2 separate regions of the Homo sapiens genome follow, and region 1 is linked to region 2. Evidence: promoter capture Hi-C in 16 types of primary human blood cells and fetal thymus (Javierre and others, 2016). All regions are on one chromosome and are shown on one strand. Each heading gives the region's core, a stretch centred on a gene start or on the middle of the fragment in contact. The rest is flanking DNA. Distances are from core to core; before and after follow the strand shown. Region 1 holds the start of SNRK (SNF related kinase). Region 2 holds the start of NKTR (natural killer cell triggering receptor).

What was found. The method cuts DNA at HindIII sites, captures the fragments that hold promoters and counts their contacts. A CHiCAGO score of 5 or more calls a contact.
Region 1: the fragment with the promoter of SNRK here is called in contact with the fragment with the promoter of NKTR in region 2 in 6 of 17 cell types (total B cells, naive CD8 T cells, total CD4 T cells and 3 more); the score reaches 9.1 in total B cells.

The regions. Positions count from the first base shown.
Region 1 is chr3:43,284,137-43,291,623 of GRCh38, reverse strand. SNRK (SNF related kinase) reads right to left here and starts at 5,084. Exons shown (of 7, transcript NM_017719.5): 1 at 4,949-5,084. RefSeq lists silencers at 1,911-2,138, 4,550-4,599, 4,840-5,239 and an enhancer at 4,844-5,344. The HindIII fragment of the contact is 7,817 bases long and covers 1-7,123 here.
Region 2 is chr3:42,595,122-42,602,548 of GRCh38, reverse strand. It overlaps NKTR (natural killer cell triggering receptor), which reads right to left and starts at 1,863. Exons shown (of 17, transcript NM_005385.4): 1 at 1,771-1,863; 2 at 1,485-1,565. The coding sequence starts at 1,542. It overlaps SS18L2 (SS18 like 2), which reads right to left. Exons shown (of 3, transcript NM_001370300.1): 3 at 5,615-7,427. It also overlaps a transcript of SEC22C not described here. RefSeq lists a silencer at 1,560-1,769. The HindIII fragment of the contact is 13,164 bases long and covers 1-4,934 here.

The DNA of each region.
Region 1 (7,487 bases), core at 3,835-6,334, 690 kb before region 2:
GGACAGTTATTGTGAAAGTTAAATGGGATAATATATATTAGCAGGGTGTGAGTAGAATACAAATCACCTAAGGATTTTATCCCCCTAACTTTAGAACTGGCCTCCCTCCCATGAGATTACAGTATTTGAAAGGGGTTGTATATATAGTTCTCCATCTCATTTTCTTATCAGTAACCTCATCCTCTATTGGCCCAACAAACTGGCCCCTAAACACCTGTACTGGATACTAGGAAGGTCTCTGTCTCAACTTATTCACAGTCTCTTACGGGAACAGATACGCAAAAAGAGGTGTTCTTTTCTCCTAAATCTGCCTTGGAGAATGCCACAGACAGCATTCTGGAGAAATAAATTTTGTGTGTTTGAGCTAAGAACTGAAACTGGCAACGGTAAGGAAGAGGCTTTTCAGGAAAGAGGCCCAAGGAAGTTTAGTATGACTCAGACAACAATATATGCAGAGCGCAGGGGACAAGGTCAGGCATGTATTCCATATAATTCATCAATTTCTACTTCTTAGGTCTAGGCTAGCCCTTACCCATGCTCTAGGGCCCAGCTTAAAGGACGACTTCCTGACCATCCCCTTGCCCTCCCCAACTCCATGCACATACAGCTCCCTATACTCACTCACAGCACTGTGTCCTTTGCCATTATGACCCTTATCACAAATGTGAGGTCATATAATTATTTGTGTGACTGTGTGGTTAATAATCTGTGTCCCCCACTAAACTAAATGACAGGCTCAGTTCACATAAGGATCATGTTCATTTTATTTAGTTCTTTATCCCAGGGTCTGCCAAGTATAGCATCTACTCAAAATATACAGATATATTTTATTAAATGAACAAATGAAGGCTAGCATAAAGAGCCAAAAACAAGAGCTCAAGAAAAATCCTGAGCAGGAGAATGGCAATCAGAGATGATGGTTTAACAAATTACTCTGGCAGCAAAGTGAAGATCAGACTGAAAGGGCGAGAATAGAGCTAGAAGACAGGTAAGCAGACAACTGAAAATGTCTCCAGGTAAATTACTTAAAGACTTAAAAATGAGGGCAGCTGGTATATGGGCAGTGATGATAAGGATGTTGTGGAGGAGACACATTTTGGAAGTAGAATCCAAGAACTCAATGCACAGGAGGCTAAGCAAAGGGAGAAATCCAGAATGACTCTAGCGGAGAGTGGTAGCTGGTGATGCCATTCTCTCAGACTGGACTTTCAGGACAGGAACATCTACAACATGCTAGCAGAAAGTAGAGGATTTGCTTCTAGTTCTAAAATTGTATGATTGAAAAACAATTCAAATCCAACCCAGCTTTATTAGAAAGGGTGTGGTTTCCATAACAAGCTGATAAAATCAACAAATTAAAGATTAGATTTTTTTACCTTCTTCACCAAGACACTTCTTGGTACAGACTATGTACCCGGCATTACTTGGGTCTGATAATGTACAGATCAAAGAAGTAGTCTCTGCCTTCAAAGAGCTGACAGTATTATGGGTTTAAGAGAGATAACTGCAGGTCAACAATTAAGAAATTGAGGCCCAGTGAGGCTGCGATTTGACCACCGTTATGTTGTGTAATCCAGGTTCCTGGAGCATTTTTGTCATAACCTACATTAAACGGTCCAGGCAAATATTAGTCAAGAGGGTATGTGTTTAGATGTGCAGATAGACCTAATCTTGCTTTGGGCCTGAAGATACTCCAAAACTTAAAACATGTTAGATGAACAACTAATGATCTCTGAGTCTGAAGTAACTTTTGAGTAGCCACATGGCAGCAGACTAGGGGGCATAATAGCAAAAGGAAAGGGAAAGAGGCCTGATTTGCCATGGAACAGCCTACCTGAGCAGAGGCCAAATGCTGGGGATGCCAAAGCAGACTCTCAGGAGGCTCTGGAAGTGACAGCAGAGAAATAAATGTTCAGGGAGGGCAAAGCAGGAATCCTCTTTAGACAGGTTCCTTCCCTACCACCAGCAAGAAATGGTTTCCCATGAGACACAGAGCCACAACCCAAAGCAGATGTGCAGAAAAGCAGATGAGGATCAATGACGTAGCTCTGGATTATCCAGAGCAGACAACACAGTTCCAGTGCTCACTCGTGAGGCCATTAAATCTGAGGAATTTTATACCAGCTCTTCCCAAAGTTAAAACAAAACAAAACAAACACCTCACCAAAATCCTTCTCCTCCATCCCCCAAAGCAACTGCCCCATTTCCCTCCTTCCTTTTCAAATGCTTTAAGGAAAGAACAGTTGCATTGTCTCAGCCTTCTCAACTCCCTTTCACCCACTTGGATCTATGTTCTTCTCCCACCCACCACTTGACCTTGTCTTCTCACCCTCCCTGAACCCCCTGAGCCTTTTCCCTTTTTCTCTGCCTGGGAATTCTTCCTATTCTTCAAGACCAGTTTAACCATCACCTCCTCTGTGAAGCATTTCCATGTCAGGTTGTTCACTGCCGCCATCCTTGTGCTTCTGCAGGTTTTTCCCTATGCCTCACCACAGTTCATCTGTTCGTACTGTTACTGTTTACCTTGGTGTTCCCCAGTAGCTTCTAAGAACCTACAGTCAGGAACTGGTTTTTATTCACTTTTCTACTGCTGCCCTCCCTCTACCCTAGGGCCACCAAAAGAGACACACAAACATTCCATGAATAAATGATCAAAGGTTAAGTTTATCTTCAGAACTGCTAGGATCCACTCAATTTTTCCACCTAAGTTGTTCTAAGTTTACCTGCACATAGATACACACTGGGAAATACCTAAATTCTGAATAACAGTTTTCTTACTAAAGCATCTTAGTTATAAACACTCTATCTTTAAGCAAACAGCTGGGATGCAGTTACATTAAGTCTAGAGTTTCTCATCTACGGTTTTTAATTCCTAAGATTCTGGCCTATGGAAAGTTCATTTGTACCCTTTTCTTCTTGGGCAGTGTAAAGAGCTCTTAGGATTAGACAAGCTGCTACAGGGAAGAAATCATGTCTTATTTATACCAGTACTTAGAACCATGGCTGCTCAGTATCTCCAGAAATAAATATTTTTCTATTTGGTTTCACTTTCTGTATGAGGGAAGTACTCACAGTGAAGTTCAGATGAACAGTATTTCCTGTGACCAGTAAAAATATCACGAAAGCCCTTCAATTTTAATAAGGACATTTAAAAGCCTTTCTTTTAGGATTATGTGATTAAATCTAAACCATAAAGACCCAACCTATACTTCTGGTCTAGAAAAATAAAATTAGTACAACTTCTGAGTTCTAGCATGTTTTAGACTAATGGATCTTACTGCAGTAAAACAGAAAAAAATACTCAGAATTATTAAAAAATACGGTGAGAGTAATTTTTGTGCACAAAATGAACAATTAAAAACTGATTATACAAATTTAAAAAAAAATTGAAAGGTGGCACTGAAAGTTTCCTGCCTGAAAAGCCTTCAGGATGAGAGTATTATAAAAAGTTAGCACTGTGCACCTGACTTTCTACACTGCTTCAATATGTGACCTTGGAAATGTCATGTAATTTCTCTCATTTCTAGTTCTGTAAAATGGGAATGTCCACCTGTTCTCCTCTCAAGGACAATTACACAGATAATCAGATTAAAAATTTGGTATTTGGTGTTCTTTAAAAAAAGAAACTTGTCTAATTAGTATGCTTTAATCATCACTTGTACAGTACATTCCTCTTCAAGAATCCAATTCCAAGAGAAATATTTAAGCAGACGTTGAGGACAGATTTCCTTAAGGGAATTATTTTATAAATCTGGAAAGCAATGTAACGAGATTATAAATTAACAAACTGATTACATAAGCCTTGACAACCCGGGCTTTAAAGTACACTGCTGTATATATTCTGATAAGTTAAAGACTGGTTTGGGACATAGTGCTCCAATCCCATACAAGGAGCCCAAACTCAGGCATTTCATGTTTGATAGGAACTTGGTGGAGATTCAACAGGATGTCCAACACTTGCAAGCCATGCTTCACCTTAAAACCTGACAAAATGTTTAAGGCATTAAGTCAACTTTACCACGGTTCCTAAGACTTTAAGAATGCACATAATTAAAGGGAAGGGGGGTGGAAAGTAACATGACAGTTTGAAAGGTCCCATATCCTCAGACCTCTATAGATTTAGGAACTCCACTGCTAAATTCTCCCCAAAGCCTGAAACTCCCTATGAAACTACTGGACTGTATGCGATCCAACAGTTACAAATAGCACAGCTCCAAGAACCCCGAAGATAAAAGGCTGCCACTTTCCTGCAACCCAAGTCCAAGTAAAAGGCAGGAAGGTCCCTGTAAAATGGACCAGAAAGAAATCAACAGGCGATGACTATGGAAAAGAACGTAGATTTCCCAGTCTCCCAGTCTGCAAAAATTCTAGCTCTCCCTCGGGAATGGCACTGCTCCTCTTTCCTTACCCCTTTGCCCTTTCTCTACAGACAACATCCCCACTCTATTGTAAAGCAGTTTGACCACGGAACCCTTTTGCTGAGGCCGGATTTCTACAGTCTTCTGAAAGGGGAAAACGCATTCAAAGAACACACACCCTACCAAGCGCCCAGGGCGCGGGGCCCCGCGGGCGCCGCACTCGGCCCGCTCCGGGGCGGGGCGCGGGGATGCGGGCGCCTTCCGAGGTGCCGCAATCCCGCCGCGGCCGCAAGGGCAGGGCCTCCAGGCGACCGCGGCCGCCGCCGCAGTGACGGCTCCCGCCGGGCCCCGCCGCCGCCCCGCCGCCAGGCCGCGCCGCGGGGTCCGGGCCACCGCAGCCCGGGCCCCGCGTCCTCCCGGGCCGCGCGCTGCGGCCGGCGCCGAGAGCGCAACTTACTTTCCGCCTGCGGCGAGCGCCCCGGCCCGGGCGCCCAGCCCGGCAACAGCGGAGGCTACTGAGGCGGCGGAGGCCGGCCCCGCACCCCTGCCTACGGCCGCCGCGCCCCGCCGCGCTCCGCGCTCGCCCCTACCTCAGCCGGCAGGCGAGCGTCCGTCCGCAGCGGCCGCGGCGCCGACAACTCCCTCCCGGCCGCCGAAACCCCGCACCCAGCGCTAATCATAATACCGAGCGGGCTGCCGGCCGCGGGGAGGGGGTGCCGGGTAGCTGCGCCTGCGCGGGCTGCGCGTCACTGTGACGTCAGCGCTGGGGCGGGGCCGCGGGAAGGGCAGGGCGGGGCGGCGCGCACCTGCGGCCGGCGCGCGGGCTGCTGGAGGGCATCCTGGCGGCTTTCTGACCCCGGCGAGTCGGGGCTGAGGCGGCTGGCGGGACAAAGCGGGCAAGGCGCCCAAGGAGGATGGAGGACGGGGGAGGAGGAAGCACCAGGGACACGGAACAATGGCCGGGAAAAAGTAGCGCGAGCTGTCAGGGGAAATCGGAGGGAAGGGACCGCGTCTGTACAGGACTGCGTCTTGGCGGCAGGGGGCAGGGAGCCGCACGCGCTTTACTCTTTGGTTCCCGCCCAGGTTTAAACAAGGATAAAAAAATTGTAAAAATACATATACATACACACATGCACATATGTATATACATATATATACATAATATGATTTTTTTCTCTGTAGTTTCTTCTCCCTGGGACTCTAATTTGAAAAAATTCGGTTGATTTTGTTGTTATTTAAGCAAAATTGGAAAAGCCCAACATCTGAATGCAGTGCTGGCCTTAAAGGTCAGCGGGAGACACAGGCCCTGCTAGGCAGCCTCTGGCAACAGCATAGAAAAGTAAACGGTCGTGGGGACACATCAAAGCACGTGAAGTCAGAGATTCAAAACACGCCGGGCATTAACCATAGCCCTTGATGGTTCAGTGGTATGGTCGCCAGGCCAGGTTGCTCTGGAAGGGAGCTTAGGGATGGCCGCAGAGGGTGGGAGGGGACTCCCGACTCCCACCCCTGGAAGCATGGCATGCAATAGAGACCAGCTCTTCAGGGTTCCTGGAAGGGAACACCAACAAACCAGACGCCAGATTTCTTCAACCTGCTTTTCCCCTTCTGTTCCCACGTTGTGTCCACCCTTCCCCAAGAAAGGACCCCTAGCAAGGAAGGACACAAGCCAGAAGAGCTGCGGAGATGCTGCAGGCTTGGTTGAATTGACTGGACTGCGAAGAGAAATCTAGATGGTTTTAGCAAATCTCTGTTGACCTGCAAATGTCAAAAGCCTTTTAGCTTCTATGCATCAACTTTGCATGTCTGAAGATGATTGGGAAGCAGGAGTGGATTGTTGGGAGGTGCAAACAGTTTGATTCTTAGGGTAATAACATAGGGTTTTCTGATCAAGGGGACTCCCAGTTACCCTAATACCCTTGCATCAGGTGGTGGGAGAGCACCAGGGAAAGCCTCAGATTAGGCCTCTGCGCCTTAGGGTCCCACCTGGGATCACTCTGACCTGAAAAGACCATAAAAGAGTCATCTCATTTTGACATGGAAATCGTAACTGTAGCAGCATATTAAGCAAGAGCTCCTAACTTGGATTTGTAGAATTTGTCCTTTTGTTGCTAGAAATCAGGAAGACCATGCACTTTTCTCCTCAGGGAGATATCACTATTCAGGGAACTCTGTAGCCAACTAAAGGGAGAAAATACCACTGTAATGGTCTCCCAAGGGATTTCCAGTGGTCGAAGGCCTCCACCCCTGGGTCTGTAGTCCCTGAGTTATATCAGTAACTACAGAACAATGACGATAATATATAAGCTCTTGAAAAATAAAGTATTTATATTGCTGCTGTTTAACTAGGTTTTGAATAAATTTTCTAAGGAAAACAAGGCATAAAAGAGCAAAACAAATGAAAAAGGGCAAAATAATAAATTGATTTAAATGAAGTTGGCTGCAATACTCTTCTAGAGAAGGACGCAGTACTGGCCACATGGTAAATCATTTATTCATCCCCAGTATTTCTTGGGTAGCTGAAGTGCTGCTGGCAAGAATATGACCCAGTTTTGGTTCCACACCATAAATGTGGTGACATGATTTGATTATGCTTCGGCAATATTTTAAGATATTCAAGTACAAATTAATAGTATTACTTAAGTTGGAATTTAAGCAAATGTGCTTATAGTTAATGAAGAAACTCCTTTTCCACTCTGCCCTGGGGCTTTCTCCAACACACTGCTTTTTTAATGTTGGGTCTTTTTATGGACCTGTAAGAAGCTTTAATTAGATGTACAGCATTCTACAAAACGACAAGATGAAGCATGCTTGCTTGTATTACAGTCTCTGTGATTCAGATCTCAAAAATAACATAATGCCACCAGTTTAAGGAAGATGTTGTTTATTGGAAGGAAACCAGGGAGGTGCCACAAATTAGATCAAAATGTGAAAATTGAGCAGACTGATGAAAGAATTGTCATTTTCATCTTTGGAACCCCAAAAGCAGCATATGTAACAAGGTTATCTTCTCTGGATATTGTTAGTTTTTGTAATTTATTTCAAATTTTAAAATAAATGTATTTAAAACAACAGACATTGAATATTCATACACAGTTCAATTTTGAGTTGTGACATTTTATTTAACAA
Region 2 (7,427 bases), core at 614-3,113:
CCTTTAATATCTTCCTACCTCACTGAGTCAGTCCTACAGGCCATTTCTTACTATTCTCTTTCCTCTTCTACTCCAGCCACACTGGGCACCCTGCTGTCCCTCAAACATGCAAGTACAGTCCTCCATTGTTTAATAACCAGGACGGATTCTGAGAAATGTGTAATTAGGCAATTTCGTCATTGTGTGAACATCATGGAATGTATTTAAACACACCTAGATGGTACGGCCTACTACACACCTAAGCTATATAGTCTATTTGCTCCTAGGCTACAAACCTGTACAGGATGTTACTCCACTGAATACCGTAGGCAACTTTAACACAATGAAGTATTTGTATATCTAAACACAGCTAAACATTAAAAAGTTACCAAAAAAAGGTATTATATATAAGACCATTGTTAAAGATAGAAATGTCATTTGGCGCCTGACTGTATACTACTCCTCACCTCAGGGCTGTGCTGTTTCCCTCTACCACGAATGCTCTTCTTAAATACGGCTCACTTCATCTCCTTCTGATACCTGCTTAAATCTCATCTTCTCAAAATGGCCTTGTCTGACCAACTTATTAAAATAGTATCCCAACTACAAGTCACTGTTATTTTTTTCCTAGTTGTCCGTCTTCCCCCCAATAGAATATAAACTATAAAAGGAAGAGGCCTTTGTTTTATGCGCTGCTCTATCTCCAGACCCTAGAACAGTAGCAGGCTCTCATAAGAATATGCAGAACAAGATGTTGCACAAAGACAACACATATATATATGTCTCCAATTAAAACTTTTGTCACGGATAACAAAAAAAGCTAAGAAAACAGTTTGAAACCCTGCACGCTCTGCTACTTAGAATGAAATAACTATGCTTTAGAAGGAAATGTTTCATTTAAAAAAAATACACTAACAAATGTCTGGATTCCCTAAAGACAAACATTAATGCTAAGTGCATGCATGCTGCAATTCTGCTGGTACAAAATGCTCTGGTTTATCACAAAAGATCTTCACTAAGCCATTTTCCCAGGAACCACGAAATTCTAGCTAAAGATTCTTAAGGAAAAATAGAGGCAAAATTAACATATTAGTGATATATCGTGATTAGGAAACACACAATATTTCCTACTAGTTGAAACTTCATAGCACCAAGCAAGATAACCGGAAATCGGATCGGGAGTGTCTGCCTCACGGAGACACTGGGAGAGAAAAAGTCCTCAAAGAACTGCACCTCCTTTTCTTGGCGCCAGGCTGGCTACGAGGACTCAGTCCGGAGATGCAGCGGGGTGTGTGGGGTTTGGCAGGAAGAGGCCCGGACTGCGAGTTAGGGGTGTGCCCAGGCCACCTTCCTCTCCCACTGATTTTCTCTCAAGAGAAAACGGAAAGTTGCCTGCGCCTCCTACCCGCTCCCAAAAAGGCCGGGGGAGGGTTGCTGAGGGTAGACCCCTCCCCTTCGCCAAGGCAGGCCTCGGCCCCAGCAGCGCTCCCCAGTTTCCAGCTCACCCGGCTCCCGGTTGATCTCGATGTCGAAGTGGCACTGCGGCCGGTCCTGCGCCCCCATCGCGACCGAGGTGGCGGCAAGAGCTGGGAGAGAGGGGGAGAAAAGCGGTCAGGGCAGGGGCGAGGGCGGGGGCGAGGGCAGGGGCGAGGGCGGGGCTGAGACGAAGTCCGCGCCACGGTGCCTCACGCCGGCCCGTCGCGACAGCGCAGGAGGCCAAGACGAGGCCCCCTCCCGCCCCGGGCCTCGCGGCTCCCACGCAGCGCGCACGCATGCGGGCGAGCTCTTCACCTGGCTGGCCTCCAGCCTGAGCGGGTCCCCGTGAGCAGAAGAGAAAGCACTGCCACTGCAGCCAAACCCCAACGCCGCTAACGGAACGCCGTCTCCTCCCCCAGGCCGGGCCTCCCAATGCCACGCTAAACCCCGCGAGAGTCGGGACAAATACCGCGAGAGTACAGTCTAGATGGGGGTGGTCAACCGAAGGTGGCGGCAGCGGGGGCGTACGCACGGGGGCGTACGCACGGGGGCGTGTCTGGGGAGCTCTCGAGGAGCCTCCAGCCAGCGCTCCTATACCTGCGCGTTCCCTGTTTGCCCCCCCCTTTGAAGTCAGTCGCCCAATCTGAAAGCCGTGGATGCGCCTGCGCCCTCCATCTCGTCAGGTGTGGCTGTGAGCGCCGCGCATTTTCCGATACCGCGAGACTTCTCTGTTTCCGAGCGCTGTGAAGGAACTGAGTGAATTGAGGCTTTGAGTTTTCGTTAGCCAAGACGTTGTGTTGCTCTGTGTTCTTTTTGGCCGGGAGTGGTTATGTCCGTGTCCTACTGTTAGGTCTTTTAGGCTGAAGAATGCGTTCCTTCCCGCTTTGGCACCAGCGTCACTGGCACCGTTTTTGTCCTGTGCTTACTGACCATTCTGCATCTTTTGTGAAGTTTCAGTTCCAGTCTTCTGCCCGTTTTTAAATCTGGTCCTTCGTGTTTAACAGTTCTGGATACAAATGTTTTGTTAGATATATGTATGCTCTGAATGAAAATCTTTTGTTACATAAATGATTGCGAAGTCTTTTTCCCAATCTGGGCCTGTCGTTTCATTGTTTTGACGTTTTTGGCAAAGAAGTTTTTAATTCTGATTAAGTCAATTGGTCAGTTTTATATTTTAATGGTTTGTGCTTTTCCTGTGCTAGGAAATCTCTGCCTACCTCAAGTTCTTGAAGATATTCTGTGTTCTCATATATGTTTTACATAGTCTTTAACGTGTAAGTCTATGATATGATCTAATATCATTAATTTTTGCTTATGTTGTCAAGTAAGTGTCAACATTTTCCTATTGGGATATACAGTCGTTCCATTACCGTTTGTTGAAAAGACTCTTTTTTTTTTTTTTGAGACGGAGTCTCGCTCTGTCGCCCAGGCTGGAGTGCAGTGGCGGGATCTCGGCTCACTGCAAGCTCCGCCTCCCGGGTTCACGCCATTCTCCTGCCTCAGCCTCCCAAGTAGCTGGGACTACAGGCGCCCGCCACTACGCCCGGCTAATTTTTTGTATTTTTAGTAGAGACGGGGTTTCACCGTTTTAGCCGGGATGGTCTCGATCTCCTGACCTCGTGATCCGCCCGCCTCGGCCTCCCAAAGTGCTGGGATTACAGGCGTGAGCCACCGCGCCCGGCCTGAAAAGACTCTTATACATTGAATTACCTTCGCCTTGTGACCATATATGTGTGGGTCTGTTTCTGGATTTTTGTTCCAATGATCTGTGTCTGAGTACCACACTATTTTATAAGTTTTTTTTTTAAACTATAAAATACACATTACATGGGCGGGCGTGGTGGCTCATGCCTGTAATCCCAGCACTTTGGGAGGCCGAGGCAGGCGGATCACGAGGTCAGGAGATCGAGACCATCCTGGCTAACACGGTGAAACCCTTTCTCTACTAAAAATACAAAAAATTAGCCGGGCGTGGTGGCGGTCGCCCGTAGTCCCAGCTACTCGGGAGGCTGAGGCAGAAGAATGGCGTGAACCTGGGAGGCAGAGCTTGCAGTGAGCCGAGATCGGTCCACTGCATTCCAGCCTGGGTGACAGAGCGAGACTCCGTCTCAAACAAAAAAAATCTATCTATAGATCTATAGATCTACAGATATCTAGATATCTATAGATCTATAGATATATATACACATTATGTGAAAGTTGCCATTTTAACCATTTTTAAGTGTACAGTTCGCTGGCATTAACTGTATTTCACACGGTTGTACAACCCTCAGTACCTCCCATCCGTCCACAGAACATTTTCCATCTTGCAAAACTGAAACTCTGTATTATTAAACAGTAACTCCCCATTTCCCTCTTTTCCCAAGTTCCTGGCAGCCACCCTTCTACTTTCTCTCTGTAAATTTGTCTACTCTAGTATTTGTCTACTCATATGTGAGTAAAATCATGTAATATTTGTTCTTGTAGGCTAGGTGCGGTGGCTCACACCTGTAATCCCTGCACTCTGGGAGGCTGAGGCGGGTGGATCACATGAGGTCAGGAGTTCGAGACCAGCCTGGCCAACATGATGAAACGCCGTCTCTACTAAAAATACAAAAAATTAGCAGGGCGTGGTGGCAGGCACCTGTAATCCCAGCTACTCAGGAGGCTGACGCAGGAGAATCACTTGAACCCGGGAGGCAGAGATTGCAGTGAGCCGAGATTGCGCCACTGCACTCCAGCCTGGGTGACAGTGCGAGACTCTGTCTCAAAAAAAAAAAAAAAAAAATTTGTTCTTTTGTAGCTGGGTGATTTCACTCAGCATGTCTTCCATTTCATCCATGTTGTAGCATGTCAGAATTTCCTTTTTTGAGGCTGAATAATATTCCATTGTATGTGTATATCATATTTTGTCTATCCATTCATATGTCAGTGGATATTTAGATTGCTTCTACCTTTTGGCTGTTGTAAATAGTACTGTTATGAATGTGGGTGTACAAATACCTCTTTGAAACCTGCTTTCAATTATTTTGGATATATGCCCAGAAATGGAATCACTGGATCATAAGCTAATTCCATTTAAGATTTTTCCAGGAATTACCATACTGTTTTCCATAGCTGCACTATTTTACATTTCCATCAGCAGTGCACAAAGTTTCCAATTTTTCCACATCATCACCAACACTTGTTATTTTTTGGTTTTCTTTATTGCCATCCTAATGGATGTGAAGTGGCACACTGTTTTAATTAATGTAGTTTTATAGTAAATTTGGAAATTGGGCTCACTTAGATTGGGTGTCCAATCTTTTGGTTTACCTGGGCCACATTGGAAGAATAATTGTCTTCAGCCATACATAAAATACACTAACACTAACAATAGCCAATGAGCTTAAAATTGCAACAAAATCTCATATTTCTTGAAAGTTTATGAGTTTGTGTTGGGCTGCACCCAAAGTTGTCCTGGGCCACATGTGGCCCCTGGGTGGCGGGTTGGACAAGCTTGACTTAGATCATTTCTGACCTGTTTCTGCACCTATGTCACCTTTTTTTTTTTTTTTTTGAGACAAAGTCTCGCTCCGTCGCCCAGGTTGGAGTGCAGTGGCACGATCTTGGCTCACTGCAACCTCTGCCTCCTGAGATCAAGCGATTCCCCTGCCTCAGCCTCCAGTGTAGCTGAGACTACAGGCACACGCCACCACACCTGGCTAATTTTTTTGTATTTTTAGTAGAGACAGGGTTTCACCATGTTGGTCAGGCTGGTCTCGATCTCCTGACCTTGTGATCTGCCCGCGTTGGCCTCCCAAAGTGCTGGGATTACAGGCATGAGTCACTGCACCCAGCCGTCCATGTCACCTTTTTAAAGTACAGTCAAACCTTTGGTACTTCCACACCATCACAGAAGTGCTGTCCTTTGTTAGAGCTTGCCCATTCTACCTCCCTGAGAGTCCAGTGTGTCTATTAGAGGAGCAGTCTGTAGGCTGAATTGAGAAGCTAGCGGTCTTGGGTCTGATTTTGCTGACAATTACAGACTTGAACAGTATGAAATGTACATGCCTTTCTGGAGATGAAATAGTTTGATAAAGCTAACTTTCATACATGGATTCATGAAAGGAAAGGATGGAGACCATTACCCAGCTTTGTAATTACCGTGTTTAGGACATCAGGCTTCAATGTAAATAGGTTTTAGAGCTCAGGAATGAAATATTTAATTTGGGATATACTTAAACAACTTTAAACCTAGAATTCATTCTTATCTTGACATTCCAGCAATTCTCTTCTTTCTGCCACTGGTTATGTGACCTGAGACAAATCACTTTGATCTCTCTGAAGTTTACTTTCTTCATCTGTAAAATAAATGAGATAAAATATCTCCTTTCTAAGGTTCTGCCTCTCTCAAAGATTATTTTATTCTGTCTTGTGATTTGAAATTATATTTTAGATGATTCGAAGATAAAAGTATGCAATTTGGTCTGTGATTAAGGTGAAGAAACTCCTGGGACAAGGCAGGCCTAGGGCTAGTATCAACCAAAATGACTGACACCTCCTCCATCTCTTCCAAGAGTGGTAGAAAGTTGGTATCCAAAGAGTTTACAAACTCAGGCTTAATTTGTCCATGATTTATCATGAAGAAGAACCACTGGTAGTACGAATTTTCAGGTAATGATTCTGGGGTTCAGCCTTTTAGAGTGTGATTATGCCAGCAATTAGAACTTCAGGGGATAGGACTCTGGAAAACCATCAGGAATGCTAGTGGGGAAACAGACAAAATAATTTTCTAGAAAACAGAAATGATCGGCTGGGCGCGGTGGCTTACGCCTGTAATCCCAGCACTCTAGGAGGCTGAGGCAGGTGGATCACCTGAGGTCGTGAGTACGAGACCAGCCTGACCAACATGGAGAAACCCCGTCTCTACTAAAAATACCAAAATTAGCCAGGCATGGTGCCACATGCCTGTAATCCCAGCTACTTGGGAGGCTGAGGCAGGAGAATCACTTGAACCCAGGAGGTAGAGGTTGCAGTGAGCCAAAATTGCACCACTGCACTCCGACAGAGCGAGATTCCGTCTCAAAAAAAAACAAAAACAAAAACAAAACAAAACAAAACCAAAAAAAAGAAGAAAAAGAAAAAAGAAAGAGCCAGAGCCCTCAGCACATTAGTGCTAACATAGATTAACATGTGCCCAGTTCTCAACCACGTTATCTCAGTCTCACAACCTCAGGAGGCAGATGCTATTTTCATTATCCTCACTTTAGAGGTGAGGAAACAGAGCTTTCAGAGGTTAAGGGATAGAGCTGGGATTCAAAATGAGTTATCTCTTCACTATTTACATGTATTTTACAGTTGCCCTAGGTTGCAACCCTTGACTCCAAAAAAAGGAGCAGGGACCTGGGCTTCTAATTTTGGATATACTTACAAGAATCCCTTTGCCTCATCTTTCAGATAAATCTCCAAGAGTGAAAGTTTTTTATAGAATACAGCTAATAAAGTCAGAAAGAATGATAAATTAGAAAATCCTCATTATGTAATCCCTAATGAATTACCACATCAAAGCTGGGTGGATCATAATTTAAGTGAAAGGCTGGTTGGGAACTTAAAAGTCAGGTCACTCCTTATGTGATGCAAAAGCAAGTACTTATCACCTTCTAATATATTCCTGCTAAAAATATTAGAACATGAGTCTGCATGAGCCTCTAGATCTACTAGTTTACAGGAAAAGTGGATGATAGTGGCACATAATTAACAACACTACAGAGATACAACTGTATGTAGAACACGAGAGAATTCTAGGGTAAACACCTAGTTATTTCAACAAATAAAGAAAAAAAGGAACTATTAAGTATTCTTTAAGTGACTTAAAGGAACATCAACAAAATACAACATGTGAATCTTATTTGGATTCTGGTTCAGACAAATCAACAAAAAGACTATCTGATAACTGAAGAAAATTAAACATCATCTATTATCAGATGATATTAGATAATAATTAGAAATCA